Regions from separate parts of the Homo sapiens genome. Here region 2 is linked to region 1. Evidence: promoter capture Hi-C in 16 types of primary human blood cells and fetal thymus (Javierre and others, 2016). All regions are on one chromosome and are shown on one strand. Each heading gives the region's core, a stretch centred on a gene start or on the middle of the fragment in contact. The rest is flanking DNA. Distances are from core to core; before and after follow the strand shown.

Evidence for each region. The method cuts DNA at HindIII sites, captures the fragments that hold promoters and counts their contacts. A CHiCAGO score of 5 or more calls a contact.
Region 2: a fragment that was not itself captured here is called in contact with the fragment with the promoter of KIFC2 in region 1 in 1 of 17 cell types (fetal thymus); the score reaches 5.5 in fetal thymus.

What each region holds. Positions count from the first base shown.
Region 1 is chr8:144,464,117-144,468,966 of GRCh38, forward strand. It overlaps KIFC2 (kinesin family member C2), which reads left to right and starts at 2,221. Exons shown (of 18, transcript NM_001369769.2): 1 at 2,221-2,402; 2 at 2,644-2,722; 3 at 2,843-2,994; 4 at 3,087-3,225; 5 at 3,369-3,514; 6 at 3,598-3,663; 7 at 3,743-3,871; 8 at 4,213-4,290; 9 at 4,420-4,534; 10 at 4,609-4,718. The coding sequence starts at 2,304. TMEM276-ZFTRAF1 (TMEM276-ZFTRAF1 readthrough) reads right to left here and starts at 1,585. Exons shown (of 5, transcript NM_001408018.1): 1 at 1,455-1,585; 2 at 693-980. The coding sequence starts at 785. TMEM276 (transmembrane protein 276) reads right to left here and starts at 1,376. Exons shown (of 3, transcript NM_032687.4): 1 at 1,237-1,376; 2 at 693-980; 3 at 1-496. The coding sequence starts at 785. The coding sequence ends at 11. RefSeq lists enhancers at 1-389, 2,588-3,424, 3,115-3,214 and silencers at 1,095-1,324, 1,375-1,634, 1,705-1,834, 1,895-2,454, 2,505-2,814 and 1 more. The HindIII fragment of the contact is 25,846 bases long and covers 1-4,850 here.
Region 2 is chr8:144,994,604-144,999,453 of GRCh38, forward strand. It overlaps the pseudogene ZNF252P and the pseudogene TMED10P1. Among named protein-coding and RNA genes, the nearest start is that of ZNF252P-AS1, 5.8 kb to the right of the region's middle. The HindIII fragment of the contact is 3,899 bases long and covers 1-3,877 here.

The DNA of each region.
Region 1 (4,850 bases), core at 971-3,470:
TATCCAACTGTCACTCCCACTGGAGGCGCTGTGTATGCAGGGCCCGGCAGTAAGCCCAGCTGCCTACAGCCAAGGCCCAGCGACAGACATCCTCCTTCGGTAGCAGCAGCAGCCTGTCCTCCTCCAGCCGGCTCAGGAGGCCTGCCACACCCAGCATCGCCCCCCCCCACATCCCATAAGTGTTGGCCGTGAAGACAGCTACAATGAGGATGGTCACTGCGACCACCAACAGCATTGCCTGACCAGCCACAGAGCGGCCCTCAGGGCCGAGGTGGCCGCCAGCCACTGCCAGCACCATGCCTCCTCCCAGGAGCAGGTTGGCAGAGGAGCGGTCCCCATTCACCCAGTGGAAATCGAAGGCCAGAAGGGGAAGGCCGATGACGGTGGCCACCCAGGCTCCAGCAAGGCAGTCTTCGTGTGTGCTCAGCCCTGGGGCCAGCGTGGTGGTGGCAGCCAAGACCTGGAGCAGGAAGCCAGCAGCAGCCCCTCGACTTGCCTGTCAACACAGGGAAGGGAGAACACGTGGGAAAAAGAGGCCGGGGTCACCCTTTTAAACAGGAAAGGGTTTGGGGCTTCCATGGAGACCTGGTCTTAGACGCACTTCCCACCAACCTCTCTCTAATTCAGGAAACTAGGTCCTTGGGGTTTGGGAGGTATGGGGATGCGCCCCTGCTCAGCCCCAGTGTACTCACCTCGGCTGTGCTCACGGCTGCGTGCAGAGACACCACTCCCAGCACCAGATGGGACAGGGCTGTGCTCCACTCGGCCCCCGGCTTGGGGGCCATGGCACCTCAGGCGGCAGTATGTACGAGGACACAGATAGGAGATACTCAACTTTGGAGAGGAAGGAAGCGCAGAAGCCAGCGACCTGGAGCCCTACGCGCGGCACTCTAGTAAGCCCAGGTTCCAGGTCCCCATTACTGGATGTTAGGAGAAGTTCAGTCCTAGACTTTCCGGATCCCTGAGGCCACTGCACACACCTGTGGAGAAGAAGAACCTAATTCAGCCGGGAAACGGGGGAAAACGACTCAGGGTCTAAGCTGGGGGGAACGTCAGCCCTGGGGCCCTGGAGCCCAAGTGGGAGTGCGGGCCTGGGGAAGAGAGAGCGGCGAGGCGCTGCAGGCCCACGCGGCGGCCTCGGCCTGCTCCCTGCGTTCCGGGAGGCGTTGTCCTGGGAACCCGGGTCCAGGAGGAGCGACGGCGCAGGACTCCGGGAGGCCAGCCGTGCGCAGTTACCGGGCTGCGCGGTCCCAACGCAGCGGCGAGCGGGAGGCCCGAGCCTGCGCAACGCACCGCCCACCGCCGTCGGCCCTGCCTCCTCTGCCGTGCCCCCAGTTGCGGGAGCGAGCGCGGTCGGGAACCTCCACCAGCGAGAGGAGCGGAGGCTAGAGCGGCCGGGCGGGGCTAGAGCGGCTGGGGGGGGAGGGTCGAGGCCTGGGGGAGAGGGTCGAGACCTGGGGGGGGCCGGTTGGAGGCCGTAGGAGCGGGTGGGGTCGGGAGGAGCTCGGGGACCAGAAAACGCTCTGTTTGGGTGGGTGCGTGCGTGGGCATAGTGGTTTGGAAGGAGCGTGATGAGGGGAGAAGGGCCGGGGCGGGGCTGCGAGGGGCGGGGTCTGGGCGGGGCTGCGAGGGGCGGGGGGTCTGGGCGGGGCTGAGGGAGATAAGGTTTAGGCGGGGCTGAGAGCGGCGGGTCTGAGAGGGAGGGGGCCTGGGTGGGGCGGGGCCTGGGCGAGGATGCGATGGGGGGGTCTGGGCGTGGCTGCGAGGGGCGGGGCCTGGGCGGGGCTGCGAGGAGAGGGGTCTGGGCGAGACTGAGAGGGACCGAGAGGGGAGGAGCCTGGGCGAGGCTGCAAGGAACGGGGTTTGGGCGGGGCTGCGAGGAGGGGGGGTCTGGGCGGGGCTGAGATGGGCGGGGCTGAGATGGGCGGGGCTGTAGGGAGAGGAAGGAGAACCCCGGCGTGTTGAAGGCTCCGCGAAACCGGAGCGGTGGGGGACTACGCGGAGGGTGGGAGGGATTCCGAGAGGAGGGTCGCGGGAGCCGTGGGCGCTCTCAGCCCGGTGTCCGCGGTGTAGGGGTTGGGGCGCGCCGGGCGGCGCCGTGAGAAACGGCGGGTCTCCAGGTGCGGCCGCGGGCACCTGTTTCTAGTACCCCCGTCCCCGCGCTCGCCTTCCAGCCGTGGGAGCCGGGCCGTGGGGGCGGCCGTCGCGAGCATGCGCACCGGCACTGCGGCGGGCGGGCGCCGAGTCTGGGCGCGGGGACGCGGGGCGGCGCGAAGCGGGGCCCTCTGCCGCCCCGCGCTCCCATGTACGCCTTTTACTCGTTGCTCATCTACATCTTCTACAGCCTCTTCCGCAGGGATGGTGGCGCCGCGGCGGCCGCGGAGCCCGGGGACCCCGCCCAGGTGAGCGGGGCTGGCCGTGCAGCCCGTCGTCTCCCGCCGCCTGCCCCACCCCCACGCCGAGGTTCCCGGGGCGGGGGCGGGCACGGGGCGCGGGGCGACGGGGCCGTGCCGAGGACCCTCGGCTCGGCCCCGATGCTGGAAGCGTAGACTTCGGCCCCAATCCTCCGGCCCGGTTCGCGGAGGGAAGGGGCCAGCAGGCTGCCTGCCCCCCTCCTCAGGGGCGCCCCTGCCCCCTCCCTAGAGAGCCCGCAAGCCCCGGGGTCGCCGGCGCCCAGACCTGCCCGCGCCAGAGCTGTGGACCGAGCTGACCGGCCTGGCCGGTAGGTGCGGGCTGGGAGTCCCGCGGTGCGAGGGCGGTGCCGGGACCTCCCAGGGAGGGGCGGAGGCCTGGCTCAAGCACGTGACCCGAAATGTCTCCCGCCCTCCTCCCTGACCGGCAGCCAGCTCCGAGCCTGAGGATGGGTCGGAAGGCGCAGCCGAGGGCCGCGCGGCCGCGGTGTCCCTGGAAGAGGCCCTACTGCGCCTCGCCGAGTTCCTCTCCGTCCAGCTGGGGGCGGAAGAGAGCTGCGGGGGCCCGGCGGACCTGGGCCAGGTGAGCGCGGCGGAGGGGGCTGCTGGCAGGTACCACCTGCCCCGGCCTTCCTGGCTTTCACAGCCCTGCTCGGATTCTTGTCTCCTTCGCAGTCTGGCGAGGTCCCCTCACTGTTGACAGTGACCAGTCAGCTCTTGGCCCTTCTGGCATGGCTTCGAAGCCCCAGGGGGAGGCAGGCCCTGCTCCAGGGGACTCAGCCAGCCCCTCGGGTCCGGCCCCCCTCTCCAGATGGTGAGTAAAGGACAGTAAGTTGAAGAAGAACTCTGGAGGGAGCAAATCCCGGTAGAACCTGGGCGGCCTGGAGTTCGGGGTCATGTTCCGGAAGATTTGGACTAGAGACCTCTTCAGTGCTAACTGGGCCCACCCTACTCCAGGATCCACATCCCAAGAAGAAAGCCCTTCCCACTTCACCGCAGTCCCAGGCGAGCCACTGGGGGATGAGACCCAGGGACAGCAGCCCCTCCAGTTGGAGGAGGATCAGAGGGCGTGGCAGCGGCTGGAGCAGCTCATCCTGGGACAGGTGAGGTCCCTGGAGCCAGAAGGGATTGCCGGCTGGGACGCCAGAAAAAGGAGGTCCACCCTGTCTCTCTTACTTCTCCCCAGCTGGAGGAGCTGAAGCAGCAGCTGGAACAGCAGGAGGAGGAGTTGGGTCGACTGCGCCTGGGCGTGGTGAGGCTGCAGGGAGACCTGGCAGGGCCGGGCATGGAGGGGGTGCTTCAGGTGAGTGCCGAGGTTTCCTCTCCACCAGGGGGCGACGGACTCAGAGAAAAGGGTTCAGCATCTGACTCTGGAGAACGAGGCCCTGAAGCAGAGCCTGAGTCTCATGCGGGACCTCCTGCTGCACTGGGGCCCCGGGCCCCCCATCAGGGCTCCGCAGGTACTCTGCTCCCGAGCTGCAGCCGTTCCTGCAGCCTGGGGCTCTTGCACACCTGGCATGCAGCCACAGGGCCCGAGCCTCCTCAGGACCTCCCGGGATGGTCTGTGTAGGGCAGCCCCATCAGGGAGGCTGATGCCAATGGGAAGACCCCCCTCTCCGTGGCCCCTCTGAGTGGCTGACCCCAGGAGAGCAGAGGGACTGTGGGAAGGAGGTCTGCGTGGAGCTGGGAGGCATGGGTTCACAGCCAGCTCTGCCCACCTCTTGACTTGACTTTCCCATCTGTGAAATGGTACCACAGACCGTCCCTCTCTGAGTCCCTCCTGGCCCCCACCCTCCCGCAGGAGGAGGCAGAGGCATTGCTAGAGCTCCAGGGCCGGCTTCAGGAGGCCCAAGACACCACAGAAGCCCTCCGAGCCCAGGTGGGCATGGGGCCCAGGGATCCATGGCTCAGGGGTGAGGCGGGCTGGGGTTTTGGGAGGGGCTTATCTGAGGCAGGGCCTGGTAAGTGCCTGTTTCCTCAGTGACAGGGGTGGGGTTGGGCGGGGCAGCTGGGGGTGCAGGAGGTGCAGCTGCAGGGCCTTCAAGGGGCCCTCCAGCAGCTCCAGCAGGAGACGGAGCAGAACTGCAGGCGTGAGCTACAGCAGATGCATGGGCAGCTGGCAGGTAAGGGTTGGGGTTGGGGCTCATGGGAGGCCCTGGAGGCTGGGCCTTCCCTTCCAACAGACTTCCCTCTCCAGGACTTCGGGCACGGATGGCCAGCCTGCGTCAGGGCTGCGGGGACCTCCGAGGTTTGGTCAGCACCTTTACCCAGAGCTGTCAGGGTTCGCTGAGTGAGGCCCGGGGCCAGGTCAGGACCCCTCCCCGCCTAGCCCCTCCTCTCTGGGCAGCCTATTCACTGTTCTTTTGACGGGGGCGTTCCTGGGGAGTTGGCTGTACTAATAAGTGGGGCTCTGGAACCCAAACAGCTTCTGTGTGACCC
Region 2 (4,850 bases), core at 678-3,177, 530 kb after region 1:
AAAGGAAGCAAGACCTGAAAAGTCATCCCAGGTAGAGGGCAGGATGGACCTGTGGTCTGAGTCTTTGTGCTGGTTGTGTCCTTCCCTGCCACCTGGTCTCTAACCGTGGAGAAAGACACAGGCCTCTGCCTAAGCTGAGGAAAGGTCAAAACTAGCTTTTCAGGAGGACGGGGAGCATAGATAGGACAGTGTTGGGGCCTGAACACATCATGGTAGAGGACTCATAGTAGTGGGTGTTGATCCCCAGCAGAAGGGCTAAAGGGGGAATGAGTCTCCAGCACCATGTCTGGTTTGTCTGGCCCACCAGCCCGGCATGGCCCTTGTCCATCGGCGTTGCTGCTTTTGTTCCTGCTGGGCCCCAGCTTGGTCCTCGCCATCTCCTTCCATCTGTCCATTAATTCTCACAACTGCTTCCATGAGGAGATCCACAAGGACCTACTAGTGACTGGCACATACGAGATCTCTGACCAGTCTGGGGGCACTGGTGGCCTGTGCAGCCACCTCAAGATCACAGATTCTGCTGGCCATATTTTCTACTCCAAAAAGAATACAACCAAGGGGAAATTTGCCTTTACCACTGAAGATTATGACATGTTTGAAGTGTGTTTTGAGAGCAAGGAAACAGGGCAGATACCTGACCAACTTGTGATCCTAGACATGAAGCATGGAGTGGAGGTGAAAAATTACAGAGAGATTGCAAAAGTTGAGAAGCTCAAACCATTAGAGGTGAAGCTGCGACACCTAGAAGACCTTTCAGAATCTATTGTTAATGATTTTGCCTACATGAAGAAGAGAGAAGAGGAGATGGTGATACCAGTGAGTCAACAAACACTTGGGTCCTACACTTCAGCATCTTTTCAATGTTCTGCCTCACTGGACTAGCCACCTGGCAGGTCTTCTACCTGTGATGCTTCTTCAAGGCTAAGAAGTTGATTGAGTAATGAATAAGGCATATTCTCCTCCCACCTTTTACCACAGCCAGCAGAACATCGCTGGGATGGGCCTGGCCTAAGGCATCCTACCAGCAGCACCATCAAGGCATGTAGGAGCTTTCTTGCCAGAAATGATCTCTTTTGGTGTGCGAGGACATGGGGTACCACCTACACCCAACAAGTCAATGAGGGACTTCTTTTTAATTTGGTAGGATTTTGACTGGTTTTGCAACAACAGGTCTATTATTAGAGTCACCTATGACAAAAAAAAGGGTTACCTAGATAATGCCAAAGTCAGCATTTGTCCTGGGTTCCCTTGTGTGATCTGTTTGAACCAAGTTTTCTTTTCTTCTCCCACTTGCTCAGCAGTTTGGGCTTCCATTCTAGTTCTTTTACCAAGATTTTTGTGTGACCAAGTTGACTTCATTCGGATTGCCTTCTTTCAATTTCCTTGTGAAAACACTCTTAACTTTCTCTTTACCCTTAGCTGAAATGTTTACGTAGCTTCTGGTGATATCTTTTCATGATTTTATGTCTCTTAAAATGGTGATGGATGTGACACTTCATAAAAGTGAGCTTTAAACTGTAGATAACTCTTGAAGAAAATGTCATTTTAGACAATTATATGCAGTATTATCATGTGTAGATTCATGTGACCACCATCACAAGAGACAGAACAGTTCTATCACATGGATCCCTTGTGCTGCGCTTTTACAGCCACAGCCACATCCCTTTCTTATCCCCTCACCCCAACCTGTGGCTACCACTGTTCTGTCTTCCATCTTTGTAATTTTGTCATTTCAAGAATGTCATATGAATGGAATCATATAGAATGTAATCTTATGAGGTTGACTTTTTTTCATTCAGCATAATTCCCTTGAAATCCATCCAAGTTGTTGCATGTATCTTCTTCCTTTTTTTCTTTTAAAAATGTTTTATATATTTAGGGGGTATAAGTGCAGATTTCTTACATGCATATATTGCATCGTGGTGAAGTCTGGGCAGTTCCTTTTGATTGTTGAGTCGTATCCCATGGTATGGATGTACCACAGTTTGCTTAACCATTCACCTACTAAAGGACAAAAGAGTTGTTTTCAGTTTTTTGCCCTTACTAATAAAGCTGCTGTGAACATTCATGTACAGGTTTTTATGTGAACACACATTTTCATTTTCTGGGATAAATGCCCAAAAGGGCAATTGCTGGGTTGTGTGGTAAACACGTATATCTTTGTAAGAAACTACCCTACTCTTTTTTCCAGAGTGGCTGTACCTTTTACATACAGCCACTCATACAATTCATACAGCAATGTATGACTGATCCAGTTTCTTCACATCCTCACCAGCGTTTGGTATTACTACTATTTTTTATCTTAACCATTCATATAGATGTGTGTAATGATACCACATGTGGTTTTAATTTGCATTTTCCAATGGCTAATGATGTTGAGTATCTTTTCGTGTGCTAATTTGCCATCTACACATCCTCTTCAGTGAAATGTCTGCTCATGTCTTTTGTCTATTTTCTATTTAGGTCATTTGTTCTTTTTACTATTGAGTTTTCAGAGTTTTTTTATACATCCTAGATAAAACTCTTCTGTTAGATACGTGGTTGCTTGAATTTTTAACATAACTTCTACCAAGGAAAAATAAGTAAAATTTACAACTCTTCTTGCATGGCCAGTCACTTACTTAATTCCTGTCCTTCAGTGTTCCATCTAGATAATTAAGAAATATGATGTATAAAATAGATATCTAGGAGGGCCATTAAGAGGGTAAATACTTAAAAATACAAAGCCAATGAAAGCAAAGCCAATAATCACTGTAGGAGTATGAGGTGCCTAAGGGCCAAAACTAATGTAAATAAGAGAAAATGTGGATATAAATGACCATGTTTATAAACAGCTATGAAAAATGCTGTCACTTGAAATCTTTCCCACATCTCTCAAGAAAGTAGGTAGAGTTTATCCTTTCTGTAATCTCTTTTTAACCCTGCTATCACAGGGCTTATTTAATCACAGTGGCAAGAATTACATGTATTTTACAGTAAAGAAGCAGAATACTGGAATTGTTAGAGAACCCTGATGTGTTGACCTGGATAAAGTACAAAGGTGGAAGAGGGAATGAGTTATGTTGTTAAAATCTCAGGCTATTCTGTTCATGTTCCTGCTACTATGAACCCAAACCTGTTTTTTTCCCCCTTTTGACTCCTTGTATCTTCCTCTCATGTGGCATAAAAGTAGTTCTGTCGTTAACTTGTACAACATTGCCACCTGCTGTTAAGAATTGGTAGGTACTGCTTCTGAGAACCTGGCTGCAGATCCTTACCATAGGCAGCAGATGTTGAGAAAGTCTACATGTAGTATTACATATACTAAGTTACAGAGGGTACATCCAAGTCTACTTGGATTCCATTCTTAAACTTTTTTTTTTTTTTTTTTTTTTTTTTGGGACAGAGTCTTGCTGCGATGCCCAGGCTGAAGTGCAATGGTGCTATCTCAGCTTGCTGCAACCTTCACCTCCTGGGTTCGGGTAGTTCTTCCGCCTCGGCCTCCAGAGTGGCTGGGAGTGCAGGTGCATGCCACCACACCTGGCTGGTTTTTGTATTTTTGGTAGAGATGGAGTTTCACCGTGTTGGCCGGGATGGTCTTGAACTCCTGACCTCAAGTGATCCACTGACCTCAGCCTCCCAAAGTGCTGGGATTACATGTGTAAGCCACTACGCCCATCCTCCATCATTAAACTTTTTAATGTGAAATTCTATCATGTACCATTAACCTAACAAGATTTTCTTTCCTATTTCTGACTGGTGCCTTTCCCCTTTTCAGGAGCAATGAAAGCTACTCTGTTAGTTATGTTCTTCTGATGTGACAAAATGTCAAGAAGATAGGAGAAGAGAATATTTTGTTTTGTTGATGCTTTTGTTCCCAAGTGTGACCCTAAACTTAAGCTTTGTAGGAGCTGATGTTCTCTCATGTCCCTTCCCTTTACTCATGCCAAAACTATCAACTAGGACATTTTGTGCTTTTGGTTTAAAAGTTAATTGATATTATACCTTGGTTTTATCCAAGAAGTAAAAGTATTTGCCTTTGACAAAAGACTGATACAAGAGCAAATAATCTTTAAAAACAGGGGTGTTATGTGCTTTCCTCCACTTTTGAGCATATTATCCAAAATGGTCTGTATAATATAAATGAGAATGATGCAGTTTAAGTAAGTATTTTTATACCATTGTCATGGACCCCTGTCATAAAGCCATTTTTCAGTTTGGGAAAGAGGCATATGGGATTTATACAGATTCACTTGTAAATGTTGCATTGGGGATTTTTGTGTAAATTTTCTCAAATAAAGGCTAGCAGAAACCAAAAAAAAAAAAAAAAAAGGGCTAAAGCGAAGAGCACATTCCAGTGAAAGGAAAGCAGGGCTCTGAAACCGAACAGATCCATATCCCAGATCTGCCACCAATAGGCTGTGTAAACTTAAGAAAAGTGACAGTATTTGTTAGCCTCAGGTTCGTTTATAAACTGTGTATCCTACCACCGATCATCAAGATGCAGAAAGATTAATTCAGGGGATAGGGAGGTACTAGGTGTGCAATGAATAATATTCTCCTTCTATAAATCAGGGAGGGTTGGAAAGGCATGGGAGGCCAAGGTGGGAGGATTCCTTGAGGCTAGGAGTTTGAGACCAACCTGGGCAACACAGAGGCTCTGTCTCTAAAAAAGTAAAATAAGACAGGCATGGTGGCCCATGCCTGTAGTCTCAGGTACTTGGGAGGCTGAGGTAGGAGGATCTCTTCAACCAAAGACGTCAAGGTTACAGTGAGCTATGGTCTCACCACTGCACTCCAGGATGGGCAACAGAGTGAGACATTGCCTATTAAAAAAAAAAATCAAGGAGGGTCCCAGTACCACCTGTCCC